Regions from separate parts of the Homo sapiens genome. Here region 1 is linked to region 2. Evidence: promoter capture Hi-C in human tissues and cell types (Jung and others, 2019). All regions are on one chromosome and are shown on one strand. The core of a region is centred on a gene start or on the middle of the fragment in contact, and the rest is flanking DNA. Distances in the headings are between cores, read along the strand shown. Region 1 has its middle 24 kb from the start of SLCO1B3. Region 2 holds the start of SLCO1C1 (solute carrier organic anion transporter family member 1C1).

Region 1 (6,398 bases), core at 2,234-4,733, 92 kb after region 2:
GCCCTGCAGGAAGGCAGCTAAGGCCTGGTGAGAAATCGAGCACAGCGCCAGTGGGCTGGCACTGCTGGGGGACCTAGTACACCCTCTGCAGCTGTTGGCCTGGGTGCTAAGCCTCTCATTGCCTGGGGCCAGCAGGGCTGGCTGACTGCTCTGAGTGCAGGGCCCGCCAAGCCCATGACTACCTGGAACTCCAGCTGGCCCGCAAGCACTGTATGCAGCCCCGGTTCCCGCTCGCGCCTCTCCCTCCACACCTCCCTGCAAGCTGAGGGATCCAGCTCCAGCCTTGGCCAGCCCAGAAAGGGGCTCCCACAGTGCAGCGGTGGGCTGAAGCACTCCTCAAGTGCTGCCAAAGTGGGATCCCAGGCAGAGGAGGTGCCGAGAGTGAGCGAGGGCTGTGAGGACTGCCAGCACGCTGTCATCTCTCAATACTTTTTTTAAAAAAAGTATTTTTAATTTTTTGGGTACCTAGTAGGTAGATAAATTTATAGGGTACATGAGATATTTTGGTACAGGCATACAATGCATGATAATCACATCATGGAAAATGGAATATCTGTCCTCTCAAACATGTATCATGTGTGTTAACATACCATCCATTAGTTATTTCAAAATGTACAATCAAATTATTATTGACTATAGTCCCCTACTGTGCTATCAAACACTAGGTCATCTTGATTCTTTTATTTTTTTTCTACCCATTAAACATTGCCACCTCACTCATTGCTTCCCCCTTCCCCACCAACTTCTGGTAACCATCCTTCCATTCTCCATCTCTGTCAGTTCAAATGGTTTTGATTTTTTAGGTCCTACAGATAAGTGAGAACACGTGATATTTGACATTCTGTGCCTGGCTTATTTCACATAACATAATGACTTTTAGTTTCATCCATGTTATTGCAAATGATAGGATCTCATTCTTTTTGTATGGCTGAGTAGCACTCTATTGTGTATAAGTACCACATTCGTTTAATCCATTTGTTGGCTGATGGATACTTGGGTTGATTCCAAATCTTGGCTATTGTTAACAGTGCTACAACAAACGTGGGAATACAGGTATCTCTTCTATCAACTGACTTCCTTTCTTTGGGGTATAACAGGCCAAACAGTGGGATTGTTGGGTCATATGTTAGCTCTATTTTTAGTGTTCCAAGGAACTGCCAAACTGTTCTCCTTAGTGGTTATACTAATTTACACTTTCACCAATAGTGTATGAGGGTTCCCTTTTCTCCGCATCCTCACTAGCATTTGTTATTGCCTGACTTTTCAATAAAAGCCATTTTAACTGAGGTGTGGTGATATCTCATTGTAGTTTTGATCTGCATTTCTCTGATGATCAGTGATGTTGAGCACCTTTTCATATACCTGTGTGCTATTTGTATGTCTTCTTTTGAGAAATGTCTACTCAAATCTGCTTATTTGTAAAACAAATTATTAGATTTTTTCCTATAGAGTTATTTGAGCTCCTTATATATTCTATTAATCCCTTGTCAGATGAGTATCTTGCAAATACTTCTCTCATTCTGTGGGCTGTCTGTTCACGTTGTTGATTGTTTCCTTTGATGTGCAGATAGTTTTTAACTTGATGTGTTCACATTTGTCCATTTTTGCTTTTGTTGTCTGTGCTTGAGGGGTATTACTCAAGAAATTTTTGCCCAGACTAATGTCCCAGAGAGTTTCCCACTGTTTTCTTTTTTTAGTTTTATAGTATAAGGTCTTAGATTTAAATCTTTAATCCATTTTGATTTTATATTTATATAAGGAGGGAGATGGAGATCCAGTTTCATTCTTTTGCATATGGATAGCCAGGTTTCCCAGCACAGTTTATTGGAAAGACTGTCTTTTCCTCATTGTATTTCCATGGCATCTGATGTGTTTTGGCTCTGTGTCTCCACCCAAATCTCATCTTGTAGCTCCCATAATTCCTACATGCTGTGGAAGAAACCCAGTAGGAAATGATTGAATCATGGGGATGGGTCTGTGACCTGCTGTTCTTGTGATGGTGAATAAGTTGCATGAGATCTGATGGTTTTAAAAACAGAGTTTCCCTAAATAAGCTCTCTCTTTTTGTCTGCCACCATCCATCTAAGATGTGACTTGCTTTTCCTTGCCTTCCAATATGATTATGAAACCTCCCCAGCTATATGGAACTGTAAGTCCATTAAACCCTTTTACCTATATGAATTTCCCAGTCTCAGGTATGTTTTTATCAGCAGTATGAAATGGACTAATACAGTAAGTTGGTACCAGTAGAGTGGAGCGCTGCTGAAAAGATACCTGAATATGTGGAAGTGACATTGTAACTGTATAAAAGGCAGAGGATGGAACAGTTTGGAGGGCTCAGAAGACAGGAAAAGGTGGGAAAGTTTGGAACACTCTAGACACTTCTTGGATGGCTGATAAATGAAATGGACAATGACATTCAGGCTGAGGTGGTCTCAGATGGTGATGAGGAACTTGTTGGGAACTGGAGCAAAGATGACTCTTGTTATGTTTTAGTAAAGAGACTGGTGGCATTTTGCTCCTGCCCTAGAGATTTGTACAACTTTGAACTTGAGAGAGATGATTTAGGGTATCTGCCAGAAGACATTTATAAGCAACAAAGCATTCAAGATGTGACTTGGGTGCTGTTAAAGGCATTCAGTTTCAAAAGCAAAACAGAGCATAAAAGTTCAGAAAATGTGCAGCCTGACAATGCAGTAGAAAAGAAAATTCCATTTTCTGAGAAGAAATTCAAGCCAGCTGCAGAAATTTGCATAAGTAATGAGGAGTCAAATGTTAATCTCCAAAAAAAAATGGGGAAAATGTCTCAAGGGCATGTCAGAGACCTTTGAGGTAGCTCCTCCCATCACAGGCCCAAAGGCCTAGGAGGAAAAAATTGTTTCATGGGCTGGGCCCAGGGCCTCCCTACTGTGTGCACTCTAGGGACTTCATACTCTGTATTCCAGATGCTCCAGCCATGACTAAAGGGGTCAAGGCATAGCTCAGGTCATAGCTTCAGAGGGTGCAAGTGCGATCCCCAAGCCTTGGCAGCTTTCACATGCTATTGAGCCTGCAGGTGCACAGAAGTCAAGAATTGGGGTTTGGGAACCTCTGCCTAGATTTCAGAAGATGTATGGAAACACCTGGATGTCCAGGTAGAAGTTTGCTGCAGGTAGGACCCTCATAGAGAACCTCTGCTAGGGCAGTGTGAAAGGGAAATGTGGGGTTGGAGCCCTCACACAGAGTCCCTACTGGGACACCAACTACTAGAGCTGTGATGGTGAATGAATGTCACAAGATCTGATGGTTTTAAAAATGGGAATTTCCCTGCACAAGCTCTCTCTTTTTGCTGGCCACCACCCATGTAAGATGTGACTTGCTTCTCCTTGCCTTCTGCCATGATTATGAGGCCTCCCCGGCCATGTGGAACTGTAAGTCCATTAAACCCTTTCCTGTATAAATTACCCAGTCTCTGGTATGTTTTTATCAGCAGTGTGAAAATGAACTAATAGAGCATCTTTGTCAAAAATAGGTTAACTGTAGCTGTGTGGATTTCTACTTTTACTCCATTGTGGACAGAGAAGATGCTTGATATTATTTTAATTTTAGAATGTTTTGAGACTTGTTTTGTGACCTACCATCTAATCTATCCTTGAGAATGAACCATGTTTTGAAGAAAATAATGTGTATTCTGCAGCCCTTTGATAAAATGTTCTGTAAATATCTACTAGGTCCATTTATTCTATAGTGCAGATTAAGTCCAATATTTCTTTGTTGATTTTCTTTCTGGGAGATCTGCTCAATGCTGAAAGTGAGGCATTGAAGTCTCCAGCTGTTATTGTATTGGTGTCTAACTCTCTCTTTAGCTCTAATAATATTTTCCTTATAGATTTGGATGCTTCAGTGTTTCGTGCATATATATTTATAATCATTATATCCTCTTAAAGAATTGACCCCCTTATTAATACATAATTACCTTCTTTGTCTCTTCTTACAGTTCTTGTCTTGAAATCTATTTTGTCTGATACAAGTATAGATAATCCTGCTCTTTTTTTGGATTCCATTGACATGTAATATCTTTTTCTACCCTTTTATTTTCAATCTATGTGTATCTTCATAGGTGAAGTGTATTTCCTGTAGGACACAGGTCATTAGGTATTGTTCTTTCATCCATTCAGCCACTTTATGTGTTTTGATTGGAGAGTTTAGTTCATTTACATTCAATGCTATTATTGATGAGTAAGGACTTACTCCTATCATTTTATTATTTATTTTCTGATTGCTATGTGGTCTTCCCTTCTTTTCTTCCTTCCTATCTTCCTTTTAGTAAAGGTAATTTTCATTGGTGGTACACACTAATTTCTTGCTTTTTATTTTTTGTGTATCTGTTGTATGTTTTTTCATTTGAGTTTAACATGAAGCTTACAGATCCTATCTTATAACCCATTATTTAAACTGATGAAAACATAACACTGATTAGATAAACAAACAAACATGTAGAGAGGAAACTAATAAAAATTCTACACTTTAACTTTGTCTTCCCAATTTTTAACTTTTTGTTGTTTCTCTTTATGTCTTATGCTACTGTCTATGTGTTGAAATGTTGTAGTTATCATTTTTTATTCATTCATCATTTAGTCTTTCTATTTAAGTCGAGAAACTTACATATCACAATTACAGTGTTATACTAATCTATGATTTTCTATCTGTTTACTAGTACCAGTGATTTTTTTACCTTCTGATGATATCTTCTTGCTCATTGACACATTTTTCTTTTAGCATGAATAACTCCTATTAGCATTTCTTGTAGGACAGGTCTGGTGTTGATGAAATCCCTCAGCTTTCATTTCTTTGGGAAGGTCTTTGGGTTTTTTCATACTTACAGTATATTTTCACTGGACATACTATTCTAAGGTAAATGTTTTTTCTTTAAGCACTTTAAATATGTCATACCATTCTCTCCTGACCTGTAAAGTTTCCACTGAAAAGTCTGCTGAAAGAAATATTGGAACTCCATTGTATGTTATTTGTTTCATTTCTCTTGATGCTTTTAGGATCCTTTCTTTTTCCTTGACCTTTGACAGTTTGCTTATGAAATGCCTTGAGGTAATCTTCTTTGGGTTGAATCTGCTTGGTGTTCTATAACCTTCTTGTATTTGTATGTTGATATCTTTCACAATGTTTGGAAAGTTCTATGATTTTTTCCCTTTGAATAAACTTTCTACTTCTATTTCTTTCTCCACCTCCTCTTTAAGGACAATAACTCTTAGATTTATCCTTTTGGGGCTATTTTCTAGATCTTGTAGGCTTGCTTCATTGTTTCTCATTATTTTTTGTCTCCTCTGATTATGTATTTTCAAGTAGCCTATTTTCTAGCTCATGAATTCTTTCTTCAGTTTGATCAATTCTGTTGTTAAGAGACTGGTATATTCTTCATATCAGCTGCATTTTTTCACATCTGTAATTTCTACTTAATTCTTCTTAATTATTTCAATCTCTGTTAAATGTATCTGATAAAATTCTGAATTCATTCTCTGTGTTATCTTGAATTCCTTTTAGTTTCCTCTAAACAGCTATTTTGAATTATCTGCCTGAAAGGTCATATATCTATGTTTCTTCAAGATTGGTCCTTAGTGCCTTATCTAGTTGATTTGGTGAGGTTATGTTTTTCTAGATGGTGTTGATGCTTGTAGATGTTCTTTGGTGTCTGGACATTGAAGAATTAGGTATTTATTGTAATCTTCACAGTCTGGGCTTGTTTGTGCCTGTCCTTGGGAAAGCTTTCTAGGTGTTTCAACGGACTTGTGCCCCAGCCCAATGACACTGTGGTGTTTGCAGACTCATAGACGTACCACCTTGGTAGCCTTGGATAAGATCTGGAAGAATTCTCTGGATTACCAGGCAGAGACTCTTGTTCTTTTCCCTAACTTTCCCCCAAACATATGAGTCTCTCTTTCTGTGCTGAGTCACCTGGAACTGAAGCTATGGTGATTCAAGCATGCTGTTGCCACAACTGGGACTGTGCCTATTCAGACCCAAAGACAGCACAGCAGTGGGCTTTGTGCAAGGTCCTTTTCTTTATGGTGGTGAGTTTCCCCACGCTGTGGGCGTGTCTAGCAATGCTGTTTGGGAGCCAGGAATTGGAGTGAAAAAAATCTTAGTAATTTACCTGATGTTCTATTCTTCTGCAGCAAAATTGGAACTCAAACCACAATACAAAGCCCTTTCCACTCTTTTCTCTCCTTTCCACAGGCAGAGGTGTCTCTTCCTGTGGCCACCATCACCGCTAGTCTACAGGGATTTCTCCTAGGCCACCTCCCATGTTTGCTTAAAGCCCAAGAGTTCTTCCATCAGCTTGTGGTGAATACCGCCAAGCCCTAGGTCTCATTCTTCAAGGCAATGGGCTCCCCTCTGGCCCA
Region 2 (7,172 bases), core at 4,256-6,755:
CGTTAACTCGTCATTTAACATTAGGTATATTTTGTTGTCTCATGTTACTGAACCATCAGGGTAGAAAGTGATTGATCCCAGTTTACTAGGCTGAAGTGTGGTTTCTGATATCAAAACAGTGGCAAGAAAGATTGTGTTTGGAATGCAAAGAATTCTGCATGGAGCCCTTAATGCTTCCATGTTACATAGTGAGTGTGGTGGGACACTGGAGTCACCCAATAAAAACAGAACCACTAAGAAAATTGACCTTGCAAGAATTAACTTGCAGGTCATCCTATCAGTAAAAATGTTCCACCATGAGAAGTCCTAACAGAGGGCAATGAAAACGTGGAATGGATAGTGGAAAACAAAAGTTTTATGTCAACATTGGCTTCGTAGTCAAATATAGAAATAAATTTGGAATTTATCCACTAACACTTTTTAATCTATTTACATATGTGTATATCTGTCTCTGTATCATTTATTTAAAACTCAATATGAAAATTTTCAAATGTATTCAAACAAGAGAGAATAGTAGAGTGAACACCAGGTGCCTATCACCTAGCTCAAACAATTAATATACTGCCAATCTGTTCCATACATACCTCCCAATATTTAGTACATCTCCTCTATATGAAAATATATGAAATTCTATATGAATATATGAATTTCTATATGAAAATATAGAAATATAGAAATATATGAATTTCTATATGAAAATATAACATATCCTTCTATTAGTAAATGATTTGTAAAAAAAAAAAAGAAAAGAAGTGCTATATTTACCTCTAAAACAATTATACCACCATTATCATCCCTAAAAAAAACTAACACAAATTACTCAATACAACAAATATCCACAGTGTTCTCATTTCTGAGGTTATAAAACTTCTAAGAAGATTACAAAGAAGTCTTCTTGTTATAGTTTGTTTCTTTTTGAATAGGTGTACGAAGTCTGTACATTGTAATTGGTCAGTTCATTTCTTAAGTTAAAATATACAATTTCTCCCTCCTCTCCTTTTTTCCTTGTGGTTTTTGGTTGGAAAAAATATTGACTTATTTGTCCTAAATAGATTCTTTACTTTCAATTTTGCTGATTGTATCTTTTGTGGTGTCATTTAACTTGCTCTTCTCTTCCCTATATTTCTTATGGACTGGTACTTAAATCTAATCTGAGATTTGATAAGATTAGTTTTCTTTGGAAGTAAAAAGGAGGACTATTTCAAAGGTGGTGTTTCAAGCTTTTAACTTCCATCAGGATGTTGAAAATGGCTTGAGATTTTTGGTGATATTATTGGTCATTGATTACCTTTCGCTAAATTCATTAATTCATTAGAGGTTTGAAAATTATAATACTCTCACTTATAAGTGAGGCTAAACATTAGGTACACATGGACATAAAAATGGGAACAATAGACATGGCACATTACTTGAGGGGGAGATGGAGGAGAAAGGCAAGGGCTGAAAAACTACCTATTGGGTACCATGCTCACTATCTAGTTGATGGAATCATTTTACCCCAAAACTCAGTGTCTCACAATATACCCATGTAAAAAATCTGCACATATACTCTCTGAATCTAAAATTAAAAATTATAAAATTAAATATCTAATAGCTTAATTCTACTAGAAATTAATCTACTTATTTATAATATAGAATTATAAAAACTTTATAGCGAGGGTCTGAACTGATCATATTAACAGAAATTTTTCAAAATGGTTAGGAATCATCCTTATACAATAACTACTTTCTCAATTTCTCTACTGTGCCACAAAAACCAAGCTATGCAAATAAAATCCATTAGAGCTCTACCAATCTAAAAGCAATTGAAAATTAGTATATTTTCTACATTTTTTTCTTTAACCTTTGCATTTGACTCAAATGAGTTTAAGGATTTTGTATTTTTAATATTGTTTTTATTAAATCTGTTCTAGAAATAAATTTATCATCTCTGGAGAATAGTCTCTATTTTCAGACTATTTGTTGGACTAAACCAAGGTTGCACTGGTATTATTTCAGTAAAACTTCAAAACCTTACCAAAATCCTTTCAGGATACTTTAAGATTGAATTACATTTCAATAAATATTAATTACCCTAAGAAAGAAAAGAAAATTATAATATTCTTATTCTCTCATCCTTTTTTGTTTATTAGTTGGAATTCTATGAAGAGAAATTTGTCTTTACTCTGTAATAACTCTAAGGAAAGAATGGAATAGAAAAGCTAGGATAAACACACAATTTCTCCCTAAATACCACTAGTTTTAAATCTATTAATATTTAAGTTGTGTTTAGAATTACTCCAAAGTGACCATGTGATGTTTTAATAGTGTTTTTAACTCATAAATTTTGTGATTTTATATGTTTCAACCATTACTATTTTATATGTTTCAACCATTACAATTATTCTTACCAATGCTCAAACTTTCCTATATTTGATTAGCAGAAACCTGTTCAGGCTGGCTTCTGAATCCTATTGGCACAATGTAGTCTTCAAGGCATCCCAGCTCTTTTTTATGACAAGATATTCCAGGCCTATCTTATATCTTTACACCTGGTATTAGTCACATATCAAGGATCCATGGTGCTTTTATTTATGGTGCTAGTTGCACTTATTACTACTTAGTTGATCATTGTTTCTAGACCTTTTCAGTGGAGAGAGCTAATACACACACACGTAGATATCTATATCTATCTATATCTATATCTGTATCTACATATCTCCTGTATATATGTATACATTTTTCCAGACTGAAAAACTCAACTCAAATTTGGGTATACAAAATATTCCCTAACCTCATTGGATCTTATATTATAGATTATATTTAAAGCCATGACACCAGATAAGGTCATTAAGGAAGTAAATATAGACAGCAAAGAAGATATTCCACAGACTGAATTTTGGAATATTCTAGCAATGAAGACTAAGAGCAAATGACCACTGAAGTAGGAGGAAAACCAGGGGTGTGTGGTGAAACCAAGTGAATAAAATGTATCAAAGAGAAGGGCACATTAATGACATACAATTCTGCTAATACATCAATTAAAATGAGGTCTGGATATTGATCACTGGATTTATTAGTGTGAATGCCTTTAATGTTCTTGATGAAAATATTTGCATTGGAGTGGTAAAGGCAAAACCTGATTAGAGTTGGTGAAAAATGAACTGGAGGAGAGGAAATATATACAAGGAATGTGACTAAAGTTTGGGCTTAGAAACATGGACTGTAGGAGCAAGAAGGAAGACAGCTAATAGCAATGTACATTTGGGTAGAGAGTAGATGTCATGAGGACAGAGTATAATATTTCTCCTGATATTTCTGTTTAGTTAGTGAATTTCCTAGACAAGATCATCAGCTAATAATCAGGGTGCAGCCAGAAATGAAGATTTGAGAGAGGTAAAGTGATTGGGTCATTAAAAAGTATTACGTCTAGCAATGCCTCTATGACTCAGTGAGTTTAGTGGTTATAAATATAAAATAAGCCCTAAGGGCATGTTACTGAGTTGTTCTTCAATCACTTAAAACAGTGCGGATGCAAATACTAAGAAGAAAGAAAGTGGATTTATCTGAGGTGAGCTTTGCCTGGGAAGATCAATAAATTGAAAGAGAAACAGGAGAATTGAGGGTATACAGAAGGAAGTGATTAAAATAATTGCATGAAAAAATTCAAGTAAGGAGGAAAATGAAAATATGAGTGTACTGGCTTGAATTGTGTCTCCCAAAAAGATATGAGGAAGTCCTAACCCCCGGTACCTGTGAATGTCACCTTTCCTGAAAAGAGAGTCTTAGCAGACCTTATCAAGTTAAGATGAGGTCATGAGGGTGGTCCCCAGCCAAAGATGACTAGCGTTTTTTTAAGTACAGAGGACAGAGACATAAAGGGAGAAGATGGCCATGTGGTAACAGAAGCAGCTGTTGGAGTGATACACCTATAAAACAAGGAGTTCAGGCTGTCAGCAAACACCAGGAGGTGGAAGAGGTAAGGAGGATTCTTCCCTACAGGTCTCAGAGGGAGCATGGCTCTGCTGACACCTTGATTTTTGACTTCTGGCCTCCAAAAGTGTGAGACAATAAAGTTCTGTTTTAGGTCACTCAGCTTGTAGTACTTTGTTAGTGCAGTCTTAGGAAATGCATTCATTTATATGTTGTCTGTGGTTAATTTACCACCAGAATGGCAGAGGTGAGTGGTTGTGATAGAGATTGCATGGTCCTACAAAACCTAAAATATTTCTTATTTGTCCCTTTATAGAAGTTTGTTAACTCCCTCATCTAGAGTTTGGAAATGGGAATGAAAGGCTGAAGTAGGCTACAATCCAATGCAAGGTTGCACATAAGAAGCTCTGAATAAGTGTAAACATTATGTGCATTCAAAACAGTAACATTAACTGTGGACTCTGGAAATAAGAAAAGGAATCGTGTTGGAGAGTGAGACTGAGCCAGTTGGGAATAGACAAAATTACATTCTCAAGGGAGAATTTCATTTCTTGGTGAGGAAAATTATGCCCTTTGGGCTGGTAAATACTGTCTCCTCTTGAATAAAACAGTGGTCTGGCCACCTGTTAGACACTGAGAAGTCTAGACTAACACTCAATGTATTCGGATGTTTGCTCACTATTTCCGATGGAAAAGTCTGGTTTGATTGTTAAAGTAAAATATTTGGCCTTTCAGAGTGTGAAAACACCATTGCTTCATTGCAAGGTTTAATATAAACCCATTTTTCTTGCATTTTCTTTTCTTTCTTTTGTAGTAAAATGTGCTTGAATAATATTAACTATTCTGACCATTATGTGAACTAAATATATATATATATAAAATGATGATACCTTCCGCTCATTTGCAATGTGCTTTTGAATACATTATATAATTTAATCCTTAAAACAGCCCTATAAATCTGTTTTTTTTTTTTTTAAACAAAAAAATTCTGCTTTACAAAGGAAGAAGTTGAGACTCAGTAAAATTAAGTGACCATCCCAGAGTCTCAGCCACTTAAGAGTAGGGTGAATCTTGGATAATTCTGGTAGCAAATTTATTTATTGGTAGAAAATAAATGCAAACTACTACTGCTTAAGATCCTCTAAAGTTTTTCTCTTGGAAAAAGAATGTATTAGAATTGTGGACTTTCTCAGTGCAAGGATTTATTTATCCTTGGAATTAGGCAGAATAAACAATTGAATGCCAAAAATTCAACGTGTTTCTTTTCTGTTTTCAAAACTCATAGAAATTGTAAATATGAGCAACTGATCATGTCTCTGAGAATTAACTCTTTTTGTACAGAGCGCTGCAGAGCTTTGATTGTGACCTGATACTTGGTCCTTAAAGATTCTAGAACACCAATGGAAAAGAAAACCATGTAGCAAATTAGCCCAAGAACCGTTAAAGACAAAACAAAACAAACCAAAACCAAAACACACAAACAAAGAAAACACAAGGATCCCAGTGATGTCCCTAAGGAATAGTTGGCTTAAAAACTTTCTGGAAGGAGGAGGGGTCTCTGTTATAAACTTCCGCCCTCCTCTGGCTTCTGTTCCTTACCCTCTGCCCCCTGCGGAGTTGTGTTTTCTGGGAATCAGCAAGTAAGATCACAAGTGGTCTTTTCTTTTATTCACTCTCTCCCATAAAGAAAGCTTTATCACGTGTGGCCTTAAACTTGCAGCAAATTGCAAAGAAATGGCTCAAAAGCTTCAGCTCTTTCTGTGCCCTGGGAGCTGAGATGCACGTCAGTGGCCTTGCCAGCGTGGCCAATTCTCTGCTGACTGCCAGAAAAAAGAGGCCAGGAAGAAAGAGGAAAGAGAAGAGATCGCTCAGGGGTGAGACCATGCCCTTCATCTTTTCTTTTCCCTAATCTCCTCTGCTTGTGTCCACCCACACTCTCCCCACCTGGCAAAATTGTTCAAAATTGCTGTGGAGTTTACCTCAGTTTCCTCTTTCAGTCTGTGGTGTGTGGTCCATCCTCTTGCTGAGCACATTGAAAGGAACTGGCTATCTTTGATCTCTTCCTCCAGGTAAGACTTGGTTCTCTCATTTTATATTTTGTGACTAATACATCAGATTCTTATGGGAGATTAACCCTTAATTTCTGTGCGATTTATGTTTTATCCATAAAAATATCAGTGAAAGGTGATGATCCCCTCATTAGTTTGATGGAAATAAGAGAGAAGATTGGTTAAAGAAATCAGATAAACTCAAATTTGAGTTCAAATTTTGAGTCTCATGCTTATAAATTGTTTAGCTTTTGACAAGTCACTTAATTGCTTTGGGCCATCTAATTTAAAAAATGGAATTCTAATATTACGTTTGTTGGGTTGTTTTAAGGATTAGAAAAAGTACGTACATTACTCAACACAAAAATAGTACTTATTAAATCTGAATCTGACACAGATAATTTGTATTAGGTGAGAAATTAGTTTCTAAACAACACACACTCCTCTGCAGCAAGTGCCGTGAGGCTATTTTTTAGTTTGTCTGAAGGGAGGCATCCTGGTGTCCAGAAGTCAAGCCAGGACAGAGGTTTTCCTCACAGGAGATGGCCAAGAGAAGAGAGGGAGGAGCGTGGTTGCCTTTAGGACTTTCTCTGTGGCAGTCCTTGGGGACTGATTGCTGGACAGAGTCCGAGTCAGTTGCAGAGCAGAGGGGTTGAGTACATCTGCGGGATCTAACTACAACCTTCCTAAGCCACTTGCTCTCTCCATTTAAAATCTGGAGGGCTGATTTTGAAACTAATGAGGACTGATTATTCAATGTTTTTGAACCAAAGGAAGAGAAACTGCTTGGCTTGTTTTTCTTTGGCCTCCAGAATAAGTTATGCTCCAAACCCAGGGTATTGGATGAAAACTGTCGTATGTCTTTTCCTGGAAGAATCTATTCAAGTGGCCAGAGATCAATTAAGGATTTGCCAAATGCAAATAATTCTGAATAACTGTGTACTCTTGCTCTACTTCTGCAGTTGCAAATGAAGAGAGAGAGCCTGCAGGCCCCAAGGATCTTTCCGTTCATGTCATTGAGCTTCCTTCCCTCTCTTTTTACAGGGGATGAACTGTAGCCTCCTTGGAACATACTACACTTGCAATAATTTGCGCATTAACCATCAAGACACTTCAGTAAAGCTATGCAGTGCCAATAGTTTAAGCTGGATCCTATTTTGCCCTAACACAAAGTGAACTGAGATGACTATATTTATATTTCATTATACTTTT

What was found. Contacts are between HindIII fragments. The study calls those that stand out against the background at their distance.
Region 1: a fragment that was not itself captured here is called in contact with the fragment with the promoter of SLCO1C1 in region 2 in 2 of the 25 tissues and cell types used here (liver and thymus).

What each region holds. Positions count from the first base shown.
Region 1 is chr12:20,783,921-20,790,318 of GRCh38, forward strand. No RefSeq gene overlaps it. Among named protein-coding and RNA genes, the nearest start is that of SLCO1B3, 24 kb to the right of the region's middle. The HindIII fragment of the contact is 3,191 bases long and covers 1,889-5,079 here.
Region 2 is chr12:20,689,827-20,696,998 of GRCh38, forward strand. SLCO1C1 (solute carrier organic anion transporter family member 1C1) reads left to right here and starts at 5,506. Exons shown (of 15, transcript NM_017435.5): 1 at 5,506-5,981. The HindIII fragment of the contact is 14,433 bases long and covers 1-7,172 here.